3 separate regions of the Homo sapiens genome follow, and regions 2 and 3 are each linked to region 1. Evidence: promoter capture Hi-C in human tissues and cell types (Jung and others, 2019). All regions are on one chromosome and are shown on one strand. Each heading gives the region's core, a stretch centred on a gene start or on the middle of the fragment in contact. The rest is flanking DNA. Distances are from core to core; before and after follow the strand shown.

Evidence for each region. Contacts are between HindIII fragments. The study calls those that stand out against the background at their distance.
Region 2: a contact is called between a fragment that was not itself captured here and the fragment with the promoter of PCDH8 in region 1, in 1 of the 25 tissues and cell types used here (H1 embryonic stem cells).
Region 3: a contact is called between a fragment that was not itself captured here and the fragment with the promoter of PCDH8 in region 1, in 1 of the 25 tissues and cell types used here (lymphoblastoid cells).

The regions. Positions count from the first base shown.
Region 1 is chr13:52,846,675-52,850,074 of GRCh38, forward strand. PCDH8 (protocadherin 8) reads right to left here and starts at 1,966. Exons shown (of 3, transcript NM_002590.4): 1 at 1-1,966. The coding sequence starts at 1,762. RefSeq lists enhancers at 151-1,039, 1,040-1,929, 2,060-2,354. The HindIII fragment of the contact is 11,047 bases long and covers 1-3,400 here.
Region 2 is chr13:52,984,881-52,988,070 of GRCh38, forward strand. No RefSeq gene overlaps it. Among named protein-coding and RNA genes, the nearest start is that of OLFM4, 42 kb to the right of the region's middle. The HindIII fragment of the contact is 5,602 bases long and covers 1-3,190 here.
Region 3 is chr13:52,597,060-52,600,117 of GRCh38, forward strand. It overlaps LINC00345 (long intergenic non-protein coding RNA 345), which reads right to left. Exons shown (of 3, transcript NR_184203.1): 2 at 114-236. Among named protein-coding and RNA genes, the nearest start is that of LINC00345, 1.8 kb to the right of the region's middle. The HindIII fragment of the contact is 4,159 bases long and covers 1-3,058 here.

The DNA of each region.
Region 1 (3,400 bases), core at 716-3,215:
GAGGGGAGCCGCCGTCGCTAGCTTGGATGCGAACGTCGAGTTGGCGCAGCGTCTCATAGTCGAAGCTGCGCAGCGCGTAGATGGCTCCGGTAGCTGGGTCCACCGAGACATAAGTGGACACGGCGCCCCCGGCGCGGCCCACCTCGGCCTCCAGCAGCCGGTAGGTGACCTGGCCGTTGCGGCCCAGGTCCCGGTCGCGGGCGGCCACCGTGGCCAGGTAGGCGCCTGGCGGGTTGTTCTCGCGCACCGACACCTCATAGACCGGCCGCGTGAAGAGCGGCGCGTTGTCGTTCTCGTCGCCCACACGCACCGTGTAGGGCCGCACTGTGCGCAGCGGGGGCGCGCCGCGATCCTCGGCCACCAGCGTCAAGTTGTACTCGGCGATGCGTTCGCGGTCCAGCGACGCCGCGGTCACCACCAGGTAGCTGCCCGCGTAGGCCGGCTGCAGCCGGAAGTGCTCGTGCCCATAGAGGGCGCAGCGCACTTGCCCGTTGGCGCCCGAGTCCCTGTCCGAGGTGCTGACCAGGGCCACCAGGCTCTCGCGCGCCGCCCCCTCCGGCACCAGCGAAGTGGCACCAGCCTCCGGCGTCCCGGCTCCCGCCGGCGAGCTAGCGTCCGCTCCCCCGAGTGCAGCGGCGGCGGCGGCAGCGGCGAAGGGTGAGGTTGCCGGCGCGCCTGGGGCGGCCAGCGGGGTGATGGCGATGTCGGGTGCGTTGTCATTGACGTCTCGGATGCGCACGATGACCTTGCAGGTGGCAGCGCGGGGCCCGGGTCCGCGGTCCTGCGCCCGCACGTCCAGCTCGTAGGTGTCCTGACGCTCGTAGTCCACGGGCCCGGCCAGGGTGAGGCGGCCTGATCGCGGGTCAAGCCGAAAGAGGCGGCGCGCCTCCGGCGGGGTGCGGGCGCCAAATGCGAACACCACGTCGCCGTTAGGTCCCTCGTCGGGGTCGGCTGCGTCCAGGTCGAGAAGCAGGGAGCCCACGGGCGCGTCTTCCGCCAGCTCCACTTCGGCCACGGCGCCCTGCGGGAAGGCCGGGCTGTGGTCATTCGCATCCAGGACGCGCACGCTGAGGGCAGCCGTGGCGGAGCGCGGCGGGCGGCCGCCGTCCTGGGCCACCAGCTCCAGGCTGTAGGCGGCCTGGCTCTCGCGGTCCAGCTCCTGCAGCAGCACCAGGTCTGCGCACTGAGCGCCGTCCGCTCGCGTCTGCAGCTCCACGCGAAAGGGGCTGTGCGGCTCGGCCAGGCGCACGGTCTGCAGCCCGTTGGCGCCCACGTCCTCGTCCACCGGCACCTCCAAGGGGATGCGCGTGCCCACTGCCGCACCCTCGGACACCTCTACCGGGATCTGGGCCCTGGGGAAGCGCGGCGCGTGGTCGTTGACGTCCCTCACCTCTACCTCCACGTGCACCAGCCGGAACTGCTCCTGCGAGAAGCTGACCACATCGAAGGCCAGCACGCACTGCGGGGCCTGGCCACACAGCCGCTCGCGGTCCAGGCCGGCGTCCCCGACGGTCAGCTGCCCGTCGCCTTCGCGCACCCGGAGCAGAGAGCTGTTGAATTGCTTCATCAGGCGGAAGCTTGTGTCACCCGATACTTTCATATGCAGGTCCTCGGCCAGGGTCCCGATGACCGTGCCGGGGGCATCCTCCTCGAAGGTGCTGTATCGGACTGTTTTGCTCTGGGCCACTGAGAGCACCCAGCAGAGGCTGAAGAGCTGCAAGGGGAAAAGGCAGGGGCTGCCCCAACGCCTCACAGGACTCATGCCTCCAGCCTCAAGTGCGATCCGAAAGGCTAAGGAAGTCTTCTCTGGTTTCCAGGTCGGGCGTCAGTCTCAGGCTCTCGGAATCACGCTCTTTGCGAGCCCTGTGCGGGAGAAGTCTGCGGGTAGCAGCTCCGAGCCTCCAGCGGGCTCTGAGGACGCGCGGACCCGCCCTCACTCTGCGCCTCTCCGTCTCTTACAGAAGCTGCGCCGCCTCGCGCCGCCTTTGCCTTTATAGCCGCCGATATGCTAATCACCCGAGCCGGGTAGCCAATGGCCGCCTCCCCCTCGCGTCGCCCCTCCGCCTGCCTCTGACAATCCCTTTAATGTGGAAAGGCTTAGAGGGGAAAACAAGAAAGGAAAATTAGGGAATCTTTCTTTTGTTTAACTCCTTTTGCTTTTTCCCCCTTTTCTTGTCAGCACCCTGCATGTAGAGGAGTTGGCACAGGGCTCCAGGAGTAAAAGGAGCGGATGGTTTTGTTAATTGTCGCCTGCCTCCCTCCGTGCCGCGGCTAGAACTAAGTGCGAACACGCTGGGGTTTCACCCCAGTGGCTCCTGATTCCGCCTTCCCCCAGCCCCTGCCAACACACACACTCTGCATTTTGCACCTCTGACGCTTCCAAACCCTTGCAGCCCCCTACCCACAGACTTGCTCTGCTGAATGAGGCTCTGCTTTCCTTCTCTCCTAGCTACGGTGCCTGGAATAGCCTCTCGATTAAGAAGCCTGAAGGATAAGGGAAAATTGATTTTATTCAAATTTGTGTACTCAATTGTGTTTTGCTCGTGTGAGCCCCAGTGATCAGAGCTGCCACTTCCCTTTCAGAAAAGAGCCCCGCGATATGTTAGTATGCACGTCACTGTCCAAGTGGCCTTCTTAAGCCCTGGGAGCTAGCAGGCAAGGAAAAAAAAGTTCCAAATAGGATTTAGCATAAGCTTGAGGAGATTTGGAAAGGTTTCAAAGATCAGACTGTATCAAAGGCTTATGAAGCCCTCGTTAGCAGTGGAAATAGAATGGTGTGGCAGGCGATCCCATTGGAGGCCCCAATGTCTGTATTATTTCACTGTGACAAGCTAAGGGGAGAGAAAGTTGAACAGTTTCCACAGCGGAGTTGGACTAACTTGAATATAATGAGCAAACGCCACATGTATCCATTATGTTCCTCTATTCATCCCCAATCACTGCCATAACTCTCCGGCTAAACGGTGATGGGCGCTGAATTCCACACAATACCCGGCTCGTATTAAAGTGCATTTAGAGAACTTTTTCCTCCTGATGCCTTGTTCCGCCTATTTAGAGGATTTTCTTTCTGTTCTAATAGGGCCACTCTGGGAAGCAACACTCGTCCGGTTCCAGAAGAACAAAATCACAGCGTGACGTTGAAACCTGGCAGGAACGTGGGGGGAACTTAACCATCTGCTTAGGAAAGTGTGGAGCTTCGGCACTGCCAAAATCTGGGCTGGGCGGATCCTGGGGCTGGCCGGGCGCTGCGCTGCCCCACAGATAGCCCCCTCCCATCCCTGACGGCCAGGGAGATGGAGCTCGGATCTGCAACAAGACGGATTCTTAATGATTCTTACTGAAGGGCTTTATTGAGCAGGCTATGCAAATACACACGAAGGAGGAAAGGTAAAAAACAAAA
Region 2 (3,190 bases), core at 48-2,547, 140 kb after region 1:
TGCAATTTCTATTATAGTGTCTTTGCATTATTTGGTCCTTTTGCCTGTAATTTTCTTTCCACCGTCTCTCATTGCCCCCTCTCCGCAATACGCATACCTAGATCATGCCTACTTTTCCTTCATAGTTTGGCTCAGTCATCCCTGACTAGGCCATTTCTCTTTATTTTATGCTCTCACAATCCCATGTGGTGCTTATCTCAATCATCTTCACTGTGATCCGAGTCATTCTTTGATTAATGACTGTCTCCCTCACTAGACTGAAAGCTTCCTAAGTGTGGGACCCTGTCTGGTTTTGCCTTCTGTTTCATCTCCAGCATATTGCATCAAACATGGCACAAAGTTAGTGTTCAATTTTACCATGGAAAACCTTCCTCTATGATTTAATTTTTCTTGAATAAGTGTTCTATGACTTTGAATTTCTGGCAAATTTCTTTCTGAACGTGTCTGTCAAAAGTTGACTTCTGGGCTGGGTGAAGGACAAGGAGGGGAGAGTAAGATTGAGAAATCCATATTCGTGAGTTTTTTGAGAGATCCAGGTTATTTTATTAGTTTCTTAAAAAGATTAGTGTTTTCCAAAGTGGAGGTGCTTTCCATTGGATGTGGAAAAAAATGACAACTTTTATTTATAATGAGTTTATTTTAAACAAACACTTCATCTGTCATCATGAGTATTCAAATCTGTCTACACGAGTGTATTTTCTAGATAACTAACACTTTTCCATTTAGCAAAAAAAATTTTTTCATATGTATTATTTTAAACAAAATATTTCCAGTACACCCACAGGCCTATTTGCCTTCTTTGAAAGAACACACTGGCCTTAACCCATTTCCAGGTGGCTCTGCCATTGATATTAGAGAGTGAAATGTACTTATGATTGATTTTTATCAGGGTTGTACAATATATTGGTAGATAAATGAGTTAGATGTGAAGACCTTAATTTTTTGTAATGTAAGAAGTCAAATATTGAGTAAATGTTAAAATAACACATATAAGTGTAGAGTAAGAAGAATAACAATACAAAGAACTTATGTATATTAACAACCCTGTTTTAAAAACTGAATATTTTAATGATCTCTAAAACCCAGAAGTGTTGCTTCCTAATCCTTCTCTTTCCCTCGGCCCTTAGATACAACCATGATTGTGAATATTGTGTTCAGGATTGTCTTGCTTTTCTATGGCTTCAAAATATGTATTTGCAGCATAAATAATATAGTATTTAGTTTTGCATGCTTTTCATTGTTTACAAAAGGAGTCATCCTGTAAGCATTTGGCAACTTACTTTTTTTGGGCTCAAAATTACGTTCATGAGAGATTATTCCTTGTAAGTGAATAGGGCTATCATTCATTCAATTTCACTGATGTATAACATCCTATTCTGAGACTACCCCACATTTATTTATCTGTCCTTGTGGGTTGTTTCTAAGTTTTGCTCTTACAAATAGTACTGTTATGAACATGCTTTGTACATGTCCCCTGTACTAATGTGCAAGAGTTTATCTTGAGTATGAACCTAGGGTTGGAATTGCCGAGTCATAGGTTATATGCATCTTAGGCTAGAAAAAGCCATAATGTTCTCCAAAGTAATTGTACAAACTTATGCTCCCAGCAGCAGAGTTTAAACATTTTAGTTGTTCTACATCCTCTCTAGCACTTGATGTTGTCAAACTTTTAATTTTTGTCAATCTGGCATGTATGAAGCAGTATTTCGTTATAGTTTTAATTTGCATCTCCCTAATTACTAATGAGGCTGAGCATTTTCCCCACATATTTATAGGGTATTCAAATTATTGTTTCTGTGAAGTACCTGTTCAAATATTCTGTCCATTTTTGATTGACTTTTGTTGGCCTTTCATTGTGTGTTAATCTGTAGTTCTTTATAGTATATTTCATTGAATTTAGGAGAATACTTATTGTAAGAGATGCTGCTATTTTATTTACACTAAGAAAAAAACGCTAGCAATTAAATTGTGACAGTGTTGATTATAAGATGCATCTTAATTAGAGAGATGTTAAATATGAAAGAAAAGTGCATTTAATAGTGATGAAATATTATATATTGGAATAGTAATACTTTGCCAATTAAGTATATTTGAAAGTATAGTCTCTCAATTTGTATTTTGTTTCTTTACTTTCTTTATATTGTCTCTTGATGCAAACTCATTCTTAATATAGTCCAATTAAAAAAAATTTCAACTTTTATAGATTCATGGGTACATGTGCAGGTTTGTTACATGAGTATATTTTGTGATTCTGGGATTTGGGGTATGATTGATCCTGTCACCCAGGTACTGAGCAGAATACTCATATAGTCAAATTTTAAAATCTTTTTCTCTGTGTTTTTTACATATTGTGTTTTAAGAAGTCTTCTCTGCCTTGAGATAATAACAATATTTTTTTCAATATTTTCCTGTCTATGTTTTATGTGTTTGCCTCCCACATCTAAAATTTTAATTATCTGGAATTGATTTTGGATTATGGTATGAGGAAGCCTCCAGAGTAATATTAATAATTATTCCAGCATTAAAAAGTTCATCATTTCTCAACTGATCTACAATTATATCTCAGCCTTGAATTAAGTGTCCATATATATGCATGGGTCTGTTTCTGGGCTTTCAAATCTGTTTCATTGGGATATTTGTTTATTCCAGCATCATTACTATGCAGCTGAATGTTGATTTACCAGAAGCTAAAGAAGCTTAAACCTCAGTACCTCCTCACTTCAGCACCCCTGATTTGCATGAATCCTGAATCTAATATTTATAATTTTGTATTATTTTATGTAGAAGTGTGCCCAAACTACATAAACTTCAGGCCCTATATAATCAGATGCCACCCTTGCATGCAGTCTTAATGATTATAGTTTTATAATATTTTTTCATGTGTGTTACATCAGCTACCCCACTCCGTTCTTCTGGAATGTCTTGCCTACTCTTTGGCTTTTGCGTTTCCATATGCATTTTGGAATCCATTTGTCAAGTTCCATAATTAAACTGTGGTAATTTTCAGTAAAATTACATTGCATCTCTAAATCAATTTGGAAACCATGGACATCTTTGCAATATTGAATTCTTCAACCCATGAACATGGTGTCTATCCACTTTTTTTTTTTTTTTAGCTCTTCTTTAATGTTGTTCAATAGAGTTTTGTATTTTTTGGAAATATTTAGCATATTTTTATTAGTTTTATTTT
Region 3 (3,058 bases), core at 490-2,989, 250 kb before region 1:
ATCTAAACACAGAAAAGGTATAGTGAAAATATGGTGATATAATCTCATGGGACCATGACCACATACACCGTCCATCACCGACAGAAACATGTTTATGCAGCGCATGACTGTACCTGCAGCCCCCGCCGTGAGGTCAATGGCAGCCTGGGCAGCAGGACTGGACTTCACGTTTGCCCACTCTTCTGCTGGTCTCGTGGAAGGCAGCTCGCTGGACCTTATGACAGGCACCACATATCCTGGGGGGAGGCAAGAGTTCACCATTAGTCCAAGTCTCTGCAGCCTCCCGTTCTCTAGGCCTGCAGCCAAATTACTGAACCTAAACTTCTGGGATCCATGAACTGGGCTCTACATTGCTGCAAAGGAAACGGGCTCAAAGTATCAGTGCAGCTTAGCAAGTGACTGCCCCCTAAAAAGGTCACAGATCAAAAAGCTTCCCTGCGTATCAATGCTATTGTCACCAATAGCACTTCAACCAACCTTTCTGAAAACTGTAAAATGAACACCAAACAAGCCAACCACAGATGTACCAAACCACAGCAGACTGTTTTTACAGGCCTAAGTTGAGCTATCAATTGAATAGGCTCAGTTCTAAAATCAGACAGCAGCCTGTGCTGGGTGCCTAAGGGGATGTCACAAGACAGTAGGTCTGGAAAGGAGCACTCAGGCAGCCAAGGGTGAGAGCTGCACCCTGGAATCACACACGCCTTGGTGTGAATGCCTCCTCTACCTGTGGCCCCTTTGGCCTCTACAGCTGGGAGTCCTCATCTGTACAAGGCAAATAATAACACTATTACAAAACAAAGGCAGTCGCAAATAGCCACATGAGACTGATGGGATGCTCCACTGTGCACAAGCATCATGTGTTCTCAGAACAAGGCCCTGCACAGAGCACCAAGCATCTTCCTGTGACCACAGTCCACTAGCCCTTCAACTGTCAATGTGCACAGGAGTCGCCTGGGGGCCTTGCTAAATAAAATGCAGCTTCTGATTCAATAGCCTCGGATGGGACCAGAGATTTGGCGTCTTGATGAGCTCCCGAGTGAGATGGACAATGCCAGTCCACGGACTCACACTTTGAAATACAACACCTCGGTCATTGTGTCCAAATTTGCTTGATAACCTGAAGCACCCCCCACCCCCCCCCTTTTTTTTTGTGATGGAGTCTGGCTCTGTCGCCCAGGCTGGAGTGCAACGGCCACGATCTCAGCTCACTGCAACTGCCACCTCCGGAGTTCAAGTGATTCTCCTGCCTCAGCCTCCCAAGTAGCTGAGATTACAGGTGCATGCCACTGCACCAGGCTAATTTTTATATTTATAGTAGAGACGGAGTTTCACCATGTTGGCCAGGCTGGTCTTGAACTCCTGACCTTCAGTGATCCACCCACCTCAGCCTCCCAAAGTGCTGAGATTACAAGTGTGAACCACCTTGCCCAGCCTGGAGCACGTATTAAATATTCTAATTATCAGGCCTTTCTTCTGGAAATCTTGATTCAGTATGTTTCGGTTGGAGCCTTGGGCATTTGGGAAAACTAGAATGTATTCCTCTCCCTTTAGACAAAAGTCAACTATTGCTGAGGCATGGGTTTCATAAATGTTGACTAAAATATCCAGTTCAACAACCAATCCTGTATAATTTTCAAGTAACTTCTTTGTGAATAATAAGGAACAATTTATTTGTCATCGCACTGAGGAGCCGCGTGACCCCAGTCGTGCTGGATCAGAGATGAACACCAAGTGACTTCCTAACACCAGTGTCATCCTGAACGTCAACAGAAAACAGTGGCCACCGAGAAGATTTTTTAACTACTTGAAGCATTTTGCCAATGACCAGACTTCAAGAATCTTCCTTAATTTACAAAAAAAATTTAAAACCAATGGCAACAAAGGCACAGTACTTAACAAAGCAGCTAAGTTAGAAGTGCAAGACACTGATTTATATGCTGTTGATAGACCTGGAGAGACAGGACCATTTACTAGGCTGAAAAGGTGATGGCCATCTGGTATCTTCCTAAAAAAGTATATCAGGGTCCTAATCCTTTTCCAGAAGGCAAACTAAGGCCAGAGCAAGACAAGGTCTCCTAGGCCACACAACTAGTCAGTGACAGAGGAGCCAGTTCAGTCCTGTCCTTCAGGTCTGTGCCTACAAACCAATACTTGATCCGAGTATTCCAACCTGGGCAAAAACATCACAAAACACCCAACCCTGCATTTTAGGAAAAAAAAAAAAAAAAGGAAAAAGGAGGAAGGAAAAAAACAAAGGCAACTGAGAAGACAGGGCATGTCCAGTCTGGCCTCCCAGATAAACCTCAATGCGTTTGTTTCTTTTGGCGCAGCCACTTCCTTTGTAACTTGGAAGGAATGAAAGTCACATCACATTGCATTCTGTCTGCCCGTGTGAATTCAACCCCGTTAGGTGAGCCAAACTTAAACACATTAAATTCTACAAATAACCACTTCTGGAATTATTAAGATAGAAAACAATGGTGGGTACTAACAGATTCACTCAGGAGTGGGTAGTTAACGGGTTAATTCAGGTTATGTGTAGCTCTAGCTGGGAGAAGAAACAGGGCTTGGAGGAGGCAAGACTGTTCAGCATGAATTAGAACTGATTTATGAGCTTGCTGTAGCACTTGGAATAGAAAAACTCTTCAGCGCCTTTGATCCCTCTCACACTACACCAGGGTTCGATTGAGAAAACAACAGCGCTGACCACCCGTCCTTCTCGATCCTTGGGGAAAAAACTTTTTTGGACGGTAGAGTCAGATGAGGCCGCATTTTCCACCAGGGAACACTAACTGCTGCGGGAAGATCCCAGCTTCTGGCTAAAGCTGGGGCGGTAGGAGCTGCCGGCCAGCTCGCCATCTAGTCCCCAGAGCCCGGGCTTTAGGGCGCCCGGATGCAAACCAGTTTTGCCGCCAAGGAACCCGGACAGGCGCGCCTCCTCCCCGGCCTCGCAAGGAACAGGTTAAGGAGACATTTCCCACTTTCTCTGCCCGGCCCTGAACGCTCGCCGCCCCTGCCCAGCCGCCCACTGTCTGGCAGCCTGCAAGTCTCCATT